Regions from separate parts of the Homo sapiens genome. Here all the other regions are linked to region 2. The links are contacts of gene promoters, found by promoter capture Hi-C in human tissues and cell types (Jung and others, 2019). All regions are on one chromosome and are shown on one strand. The core of a region is centred on a gene start or on the middle of the fragment in contact, and the rest is flanking DNA. Distances in the headings are between cores, read along the strand shown. Region 1 overlaps DESI1 (desumoylating isopeptidase 1). Region 2 holds the start of CSDC2 (cold shock domain containing C2). Region 3 overlaps ACO2 (aconitase 2).

Region 1 (3,006 bases), core at 280-2,779, 55 kb after region 2:
CCATGCTGGCCAGGCTGGTCTCAAACTCCTGACCTTGTGATCTACCCGCCTCGGTCTCCCAAAGTGCAGGGATTACAGGGGTTAACCACTGCACCCAGCCTGTTCATTCTTTCACTTATTCATTCATCCACCAAACACTTGGAGCCAACAATAACATTAAAAATGAATTGAGTGAATTTACATCCTTTCTTTTTTCCTTTTGAGACAGAGTCTCACTTTGTTTCCCAGGCTGGAGTGCAGTGGCGTGATCTCGGCTCACTGCAACCTCCGTCTCCGGGGTTCAAGTGATTCTTCTGCCTCAGCCTCCCAAGTAGCTGGGATTATAGGTGTGAGCTACTGTGCCCGGCCTACATCCTTTTTTTTTTTTGAGATGGAGTCTCACTCTATCACCCAGGCTGAAGTGCAGTGGCATGATCTCGGCTCACTGCAACCTCTGCCCTCCGAGTTCAAGCGATTCTCCTGCCTCAGCTTCCCGAGTAGCTGGGATTACAGGCATGCGCCACCGTGCCCAGTTAATTTTTGTATTTTTAGTAGAGATGGGGTTTCACTATCTTGGCCAGGCTGGTCTTAAACTCCTGACCTCAGGTGATCCACCCGCCTTGGCCTCCCAGAGTGCTGGGATTACAGGCATAAGCCACCTCACCCCACCTTGTTTTCTTCTTCTTTTTTTTTTTTTTAACAAAAAAGTTCCTTTTCACCTGTTTTCCACATGCATATCTGCAGAAGATTTCATTTCAAGGAAGAGTTTCACAGCTAAAGAGCATTTGAAAACCACTGGTCAGGCCACATGCAGTGGCTCACGCCTGTAATCCCAGCACTTTTGGAGGCTGAGGCGGGCGGATCACGAGGTCAGGAGATCAAGTCCATCCTGGCTAACATGGTGAAACCCCGTCTCTTCTAAAAAAAAATACAGGCCGGGCGCGGTGGCTCAAGCCTGTAATCCCAGCACTTCGGGAGGCCGAGGCGGGAGGATCACGAGGTCAGGAGATCGAGACCATCCCGGCTAACACGGTGAAACCCCGTCTCTACTAAAAATTAAAAAAAAAAAAAAAAAAAAAAAATTAGCCAGGCACGGTGGCGGGCGCCTGTAATCCCAGCTACTCAGCAGGCTGAGGCAGGAGAATGGCATGAACCTGGGAGGCACGCGCCACTGCACTCCAGCCTGGGCACACAACAAGACTCTGTCTCAAAAAAAAAAAGAAAATTTAAAAAAGCAGAATCACGCAGGGCCTTGTAAGCCATATTCCTTTCCATTTTGCCTTAAAGAAATTGAATGATTATTAAATTAATTCATTAGATGAGTATAAAACAGTTCACACAGTGAACAAAAATCAAAAACAAAGCACAATAGATGGCATTAAAACAGAAAAAACCTCTCTCAGATTTGAATAAATTTTACTTAATCTTCAAGCTTAAGTTCAAGTCTCAATCATTTCTATAATCAATACTTACTGAACACCTGCTCCAACAGGCCACTGGGGACATATAGGAAGGGGACAGAGTCCTTGCCCTCCAGGAGCTCCAGGCTCTTGCCAAAGCCTCTCTGACATGCTCAGCTCACCATGGCCTCTCTTATTTCAAAGCCTAACATAGTTCATGCACCACTCACTCACTTTGGCACCTAATCATAATCTGTTTTATATTGTTATCAAATGTTATATGTGTACATTCATTATTTAAAGGAAAATAATATTTTAAGAAAAACTCCTGGGCTGGGCATGGTGACTCATGCCTTACTTTGGGAGGGGGGTTTGTTCAGCATTTTGGGAAGCTAAGGTGGGTGGATCGCCTGAGATCAGGAGTTTGAGACCAGCCTGACCAACATGGTGGAACCCAGTCTCTATTAAAAATAGAAAAATTAGCTGGACATGGTGGCACATGTCTGTAATCCCAGCTCCTTGGGAGGCTGAGGCAGGAGAACTGCCTGAACCCAGGAGGCGGAGGTTGCAGTGAGCCGAGATCGTGTCATTACACTCCAGCCTGGGCAACAAGAGTGAAACTCTGCCTCAAAAAAAGAAAAATTCCTGGAGGACAGAGTTCACGTCATATCTTTTATTTCATTACTATTTGTACTACAAAATGAAGTAAAGAATTGAGTATAGTGTAAAATCTCTAATATTCATTAGAATTCATTCTGCCAAGCAATTTATATATTCTATGTCTCCAAATCTTTAAGTCTGAAAACAGTTTTGAAATGGGCTTGTAAAGAAAAATAAACGTGATGCATGTACACGAAACTTCTGATCAGAAAATAATAAACAAATATGAAGTACTTCTTACCACAATTAAAACACACACACACACACACACACACACACACACACACACACACTTCTGCATGTACTGTGGCACAAAAAGAGGTCAAGAAACTTAAAGAGCAGCCAAAATTATTAAGAGGAGGAACTGAAGGACACTTATAATAGCTAATTATTTTAGGCAATTGGTGACTATGAAAAAAGGTGCAATGAGGCTATCTGCTCAATTAGAATGCTGAAGATAATTTTGGGACCATTTTTCATAGTGAATGAAAAGCTATAGAACAGTAATGCCTTCACTTGAGGCAATTCCAGGAGGCTGAAAACAGGACAGGCTAAAACTACGGAATTTACATTGCTTCAGGAAAGGGGAATTACCTTGGGCTTTATCTAGTCTAATCCTGAACTGCGACAGAGCTAGATGAGGTCTCCCATTGGAGAACTGACATAACTGAAGCCTGAGAGGGTACTGCAGATGAGATCACATGGATTTAATTTGGGAAAATGGAGACTAAGAGGCATGATCATAAATCTAGATTGTAAGTGGCACATACACATTGAACCCAGCTTTTTTTCTCATCCAAACTTGAAACATTTGGCAAAGGATGCCTTTACAAACTTCAGGAAGGCATCTACTTTACTTCAATTTTAAAGGAACGTATTACACAGAGGTGGTATCTCAAAATGACAGAGAACGCGAGCTCTGGAAGTCAGACTGCCTGTGTTCATAACCCAGCTCTACCACCTAGTA
Region 2 (3,133 bases), core at 265-2,764:
TCTACTAAAAATACAAAAAAATTAGCTGGGTGTGGTGGTGTGTGTCTGTAGTCCCAGCTACTCAGGAGGCTGAGGCAGGAGAATCGCTTGAACCCGGGAAGCGGAGGTTGCAGCGAGCTGAGATCAAGCCACTGCCCTCCAGCCTGGGCGACACAGCAATACTCTCTAAAAAAAATAATAATAATTCAGAACATCCCCAGGTAACCACAGGCAGCATTTCTCAACAGTCTCTCCTGCAGAACCAGAAACCCAGACTGTCTGAGCCTGATTGTCCTGAGAGGTTCTGGAAGGGCAGGGGCGTGTGGTGACACTGGGTGCTCCTGGGTTCCAGTACCTCTCTAGCCAGTTGGAAGAATATAGGCAAGTCAAGTCCTTCCTCCTCCCTGAGCCTCTAATTCCTCACCGGTAAAGTAGGGATGATAAAAATAAATTATTAAATTGTTGTGAGGTTTCAATGAGGGCAAAGCTTGCTGCCTGAAACAGAGCAAGCTCTTGTGGCGTCTTAGCTATTTGTATTAGTTACTTGTATTTTTCTCTGCGGTTTCCCTTTTAACTCCCACCTCCTTTTTATTTTAAAAAGACTCCTTTTGAAAATGCCAGCCTGCCTCAGTAGTACCAGGAGACACCAGGGAAAGGCTTCCTTCTTTCCAAGCTGAGGCTGAGAAGGAATGGGAAGAACGAAGAGAAGCACCTTTGTGGAGGCCTCCTCCAGCTGGCCCTGGGTTTAGGAACATCACACACTCAACCTCCAAAGGCCCTCAGGGGCTGGCCCAAGGTCACACAGCTTGACAGTGCGGAGCACTTCGAAGCCAGGGCGTGTGGTGTAGAACAGGCTGGGTGCCTGAATTCAATCAGCCCTCTCTACTTCTCTACTCAGAGCCTCCCAGGCTGTGGGGTGTTCACCTGTGCACCTTCAAGCCGATCACTTCCTTGGGGTCCTCGTCAATTCAATTCCATGGAAATATTACAAGGGGTAGACAGAGATGAGCCGTGTCAGTGTCTGTACTAGCAGAGGGCAGGACCACTGAGCGTCCGGAGGGGAGACGAGTGTCTGGGTGTCCCTGGGAACCTGGCTTGTCTCGACCCCTCTGGGGGGCTCCTCTTGGCTCTGACCTCCATTCTCCCAGACTCACCCCCACTCATGCCCACCCACCCCGAGGGGCCCCCCAGTGTGCACTCACACACTCACACTCAAACTCACCACCCCACTTGCTCTCTAATTACCAGGAACGTGGCGCTGTCTCAGGTTCTTCCTCCCCTGCATTCCTCAGCAGCTGCCCTCACTGGGCAGGGCAAATTATACCGTGGCCCGACCATAAAAGCCACTTTCCAAAAAAAGAAGCTTTAAGGCCCCCGAGAGACGCAGCTGAGCCTCTCACCTGGCAGTGCCTGACTCAGGAGGTGATGTCTGGGCCATGAGCCACAGAGCCTGGTGTCCCTTTAAGCAGGGAGTACAAATTCTCATCCCTCCCTCCTGCTCTCCCTGACGTCAGCTGGAAGGCGTGTGAGTGAGTGAGGGGCTGAGGTACCGCCCGCGCGAGCACACACAGACACACACACACACACACACACACACACACACACACATCTTCCAGACCCATCCCCTGCCTGCCAGCTCCACGAGCCAGAGAGAGACAGAGCGCGGACGCCGCAGGAGGCAGTGCCTGGACCCCAGCTGCCCAGGAGAGGTGAGGGGCTAGATGGGGCCTGAGGACACTGTGCCAGAAACTGTGGCTTTGGCCAGGCCGAAGGAGAGAGGTACAACGTGAAGGTGGGGGCTGGATCAGCCCAGTTCAGCTTACAGATAGGGTGTTGGGGGTATAGAGGATACCACCTGTCTCTCCCTCCCTCATTCTCTCCCCGTGACCCCCAAATGAGGTGAGGCCGTGTGGCTCCCGTGGGAGCATGTCTGTGTCTGTGTCTGTGTCTGTGTCTGGGACCTGCGTCTGGCTCAGGAGGCAGAGAGCAGCAGATACCTGCCAAGCCGCAGCCTCCTGTCTGGGAAGCAGCGGGAGAGAGGACCGCCTTGACCAGAGAAACCCCAGTGCCGCTTCCAGTTGCTGAAAGCAGAGTGCAGCAGGGACCCTTGCTGGTCCTTCCCCTGGAATGTTGGGCTGGGAAGGGACCGGCTGGGAAAGGCAGACAGTTGGACCTGGAGCAGCTGTCTTATCCTGACTCTATTTTTTCCCCAGTGTGATGGGGATAATTGTGTTAGTTGGCTTAGAGAGGTGGCTCCGTGTGGTTATTCTCTTCCCCCAGGTACCACCCCACCCCGAGCCCTTGCTTCTTGCCTGCCTGCTGGTCTGCTCTGACCTCCACCCTTGCCAGGGCACAGCCCCCGGAGGGCAGGGGTGATAAGTCAGGGCCTGCCAGGCCTCTATCTTGGGATACAGGGACTTAGGGTGGCCTTGGCTGGTGCCAAGCCCATGAATGGCCTGACCCTGGCACAAGGAGTCCAGGCGGAGATAAGGGGCGACGCTGGCACCCACAAGGAGACAGCAGGTTCCTGCCAAGCTGCCAGCCTGCAGGCTCTTCCCAGGGAGAGGGGAGGGGGACACAGAGCGAGAACAATAATAAATACAGAGTGTGAACTGCTGCATCCACTGGGGCTGGGGTAGGAGAGGAGGAAGTATGCCCAGTGGGGGGTGGGCAACCTCTCTGAGAGCCTGGCATCATGCTGCCTGGCTGTGATCCGGCAGGGGCCTCTCCCTGGGAAAGGGGGTCTCCAGCTTTCTGGGGGATGGGGAACTGGTTTCCCAAACCTGACTCCATCCCAGAGTCCTCTGGACCCTCCAAATTCTGAATGTTTCCTCCTCCCAGCTTTGCCCTGCCGCCCCCCATTTCCTTGAAGTCTTCTCCAAAAATGTCTGTTTTCTGTGTCTGCCCATCTTGACCCATCCTCACCCCCTTCAAAAAAAAAAAAAAAGACAGGTATAGACAGGAACTGCCTGCCCGTGTCCTGGGAAAGGCCAGAGGACAGTTTTGGCCACAGATGGCTCTCCCAGGCTTGGAGAGACATGGCTAGGCAATGTTCACGGATGCGCAGGGGGATTCCCTGAGGGGGACTTGGGGACACTCTCAGATGGCTGGTGGGGAGGGGACACCTGCCAGCCAGTCTGGAGTAGAGCCCCCT
Region 3 (3,265 bases), core at 162-2,661, 56 kb before region 2:
GAGCAGGTCTCAACAAGGTGGGGGGTGGTCAGTTTTGTCCCTAGGGCCCATTTGGTGATGTCTAGAGATATTTTTGGTTGTCATAACTTGGCTGGGGTTGGGGCTTACTGTTACCCAATGGGTAACCAGGAATACTACCAAGCATCCTACAGCGCACAGGGCAGCCCCACAACAAAAGAATTCTGCGGCCCAAATAGGTTCATAGTGCCCTGGCTGAGAAACCCTGACACGGAGAAAGAGGGCAGAGGTGAGGTTATGCTAAAAAGAATTATATTCTAGCCGGGTATGGTAGCCCACGCCTGTAATCCCGGCACTTTGGGAGGCCGAGGCAGGCGGATCACTTAAGGCCAGGAGTTTGAGACCAGCCTGGCCAACATGGTGAAACACTGTGTCTACTAAAAATACAAAAAAATTAGTCAGGCATGGTGGCGAGCGCCTGTAATCCCGGCCACTCGGGAGGCTGAGGCAGGAGAGCCGCTTGAACCCAGGAGGTGGATGTTGCAGTGAGCTGAGACCACACCACAGCACTCCAGCCAGAGTGGTGTCTCTGGTGACAGAGGAAGAGACTCTGGCTCAAAAAATAAAAATAAAGCGTTCTATTCTAAGAATTTTTTAGAAGGCCAGGGGACTTGCTGGGCGACTTCTCTTCCACCTTGTGTCTCCAACAGAAGGGGTCTAAGTCTGTTCTTGAGAACTGGATCTGTGTCATCTGGAGAGCAGAGGGACAGATGGATATGAAGACCCATTTTGTCATCCTCAGTTAATCCTCAGGGACATTCAATGATGAACCCATCCTAAAGCTTCAGCATTGCTGAGCTTTTTTATATAGCTTCAATCATTTGCTTCCAAGGTCTTGGGTTTTTAAGCCCATGTGCTATTTTTTGTCTCCCTCGGGGCCCAGAAGGAGGGGCTGTGAGTCATTGCCCGTACACCAGCCTTGGCGGTGCTGCCGCAATCGGCGCAGGCTGTACCTCAGGCTAGTGCTGTTTTTATTCATAGAGATGCTCAGAGTTGCCAGTTGGTCTGCTGTTGCCAGCAGATCCAGCACCTTAGGGACTTTTTTTTTTTTTTTTTTTTTTTTTTTTTTGAGGTAGGGTCTTGCTCTGTTACCCAGGCTGGAGTGCAGTGGTTCGATCATGGCTTACTGCAGCCTTGACCTTCTGGGGTCAATCCATCCTCCCACCTCAGCCTTCCCAGTATCTGGGACTATAGGCACATGCCACCATGCCTGGCTTCTTTTTATGTTTTTTGTACAGGTGGAGTTGCCCAGGCTAGTCTCAAAACGCCTGGACTCAAGTGATCTGTCTGCCTCGGCCTCCTAAAGTGCTAGGATGACAATCGTGAGCCACCACACCCAGCTGGGAACTCTTACTTTGAAGAGGTTGGGTAAACTTGGGGGTGAGGGACTGGAACCCAGCTTGCAGAAGGAAGTTTCTCTGCCATCTCACTATGCATATTGATGATAACAGTAATGATAACTGAGAAAGGATGAGGTGGCTCACACCTGTAATCCCAGCTCTTCGGGAAGATCATGTGAGCCTAGGAGTTCAAGACCAGCCTGGTCAATACAGTGAAAACCCATTTCTACAAAAATAAAATAAATAAATAAATAAAATTAGCCAATGTGGTGGTGCGTGCCTATAATCCCAGTTACTCAGAGGCTGAGGTGGGAGGATCGCTTGAGCCTGAAAGGTTGAGGCTGCAGTGAGCTACAATTGTGCCACTACACTCCAGCCTGGGTGACAGAGCAAGACCCTGTCTCAAAATAATAACAATAATAATAATAATAATAATAATAATGAAAATGGAACATTCACCATGTGCTGGCCCTATTCCAGATTCCAGGTGTGGAGAGACCGGGTAGATTAGCGTCAGGAGCACAGCCGTAGGGCCACACTGCTGCCTCTTCGTGGTCCAGCTGTACCCCTCACTGGCTTCGTGGTCTGGAGCAAAGCTACTCTGTCCCTCTGTGCTGCAGCTTCCTCATCTGTGCTGTGAGGATAAAATGAGTTTTATACATGAAAATACTTAAGATAATGCTGAGCTGAAAGTAAATGCTACGATAACGCTGGTCTCTAGTGACAGAAAGCCAATCAGTAGTGGCAAAGGGGCGGGAGGGAGTTAACCAAGGGGTGGGGAAACTTGAAGGAGAGATGGTCAGTATCTTGATTGTGGTGCTGGTTTCACAGGTGTATACAGTGTCAAAACTTAGCAAATTGTGTACCTTAAATATGCAGTTTATTGTATGCCAATTATACCTCTGTTTAAAGCTGTTTAAAAATGAAAGGCTATAGAAGTGGAAGCTGTTATCTCATCCCAGTGCAAGCCCTGGTATTTAGAGATGGGCTGGCTGAGCTGAGGAGAGCAGTTGCTTATCTTGTTAAATAGTGGTTTCAGTAATAGGTCAGGTTTGGGCTTTTTTGTTTTTTTTTTGTTTGTTTGTTTTTATTAGAGACAGCATGTCACTCTGTTGCTCAAGCTGGAGTGCAGTGATGTGATCAGGGCTCACTGCAGCCTTGATCTCCTGGGCTTAAGTGATCCTCCCGCCTCAGCCTCCTGCGTAGTTGGGACTACAGGCACGCATCACCCTGTCTGGCTCATTCTTTTTTTTTTTTTGAGATAGAGTCTTGCTCTATTGCCCAGGCTGGAGTGCAGTGGCGCTATCTCAGCTCACTGCAAGCTCCGCCTCCCGGGTTCACGCCATTCTCCTGCCTCAGCCTCCCGAGTAGCTGGGACTACAGGCGCCCGCCACCACGCCTGGCTAATTTTTTTGTATTTTTAGTAGAGACAGTGTTTCACCATGTTAGCCAGGATGGTCTCCATCTCCTGACCTCATGATCCGCCTGTCTCGGCCTCCCAAAGTGCTGAGATTACAGGCATGAGCCACCGCACCCGGCCTCATTCTGTTTTTTATAGAGACAAGGTCTCACTCTGTTGTCCAGGCTGATCTTGAACTGGCCTCAAGCGATCCTCCTGCTTTGGTCTCCCAAAATGCTAGGATTACAGGCGTGAGCCACCACACCAGGCCCCCAGGTCAGGGTTAAACTCAGAGCTTCTGACTCCCAGTCTGAAACTTTTTTCTTGGCCTCAAACAATAGGACAGAGCCTGTCAGGTGTGGGTTGAACTCTGCTCCTCCTTAGGAAGGAAGTCTCAAGCTTGGCCTAAGCTTTGAGAATTCTGGGGGGCAGAGCGTGAGGTCTGAAAGGGGCTGTTGTGGCAGGCAGGGCGGCCACAACAGCCCCTTTGCTCTGTTGTGTGGGTGCA

What was found. The method cuts DNA at HindIII sites, captures the fragments that hold promoters and counts their contacts. A contact is called where the count stands out against the background at its distance.
Region 1: a contact is called between a fragment that was not itself captured here and the fragment with the promoter of CSDC2 in region 2, in 3 of the 25 tissues and cell types used here (IMR-90 fibroblasts, bladder and lymphoblastoid cells).
Region 3: a fragment that was not itself captured here is called in contact with the fragment with the promoter of CSDC2 in region 2 in 3 of the 25 tissues and cell types used here (lymphoblastoid cells, pancreas and psoas muscle).

The regions. Positions count from the first base shown.
Region 1 is chr22:41,614,236-41,617,241 of GRCh38, forward strand. All of the region lies in intron 1 of DESI1 (desumoylating isopeptidase 1), which reads right to left. Among named protein-coding and RNA genes, the nearest start is that of DESI1, 5.3 kb to the right of the region's middle. The HindIII fragment of the contact is 3,973 bases long and covers 1-3,006 here.
Region 2 is chr22:41,559,496-41,562,628 of GRCh38, forward strand. CSDC2 (cold shock domain containing C2) reads left to right here and starts at 1,515. Exons shown (of 4, transcript NM_014460.4): 1 at 1,515-1,688. It overlaps LOC105373044 (a long non-coding RNA gene), which reads right to left and starts at 1,388. Exons shown (of 2, transcript NR_134631.1): 1 at 1,225-1,388. The HindIII fragment of the contact is 6,219 bases long and covers 1-2,682 here.
Region 3 is chr22:41,503,655-41,506,919 of GRCh38, forward strand. All of the region lies in intron 2 of ACO2 (aconitase 2), which reads left to right. Among named protein-coding and RNA genes, the nearest start is that of ACO2, 36 kb to the left of the region's middle. The HindIII fragment of the contact is 3,499 bases long and covers 1-3,161 here.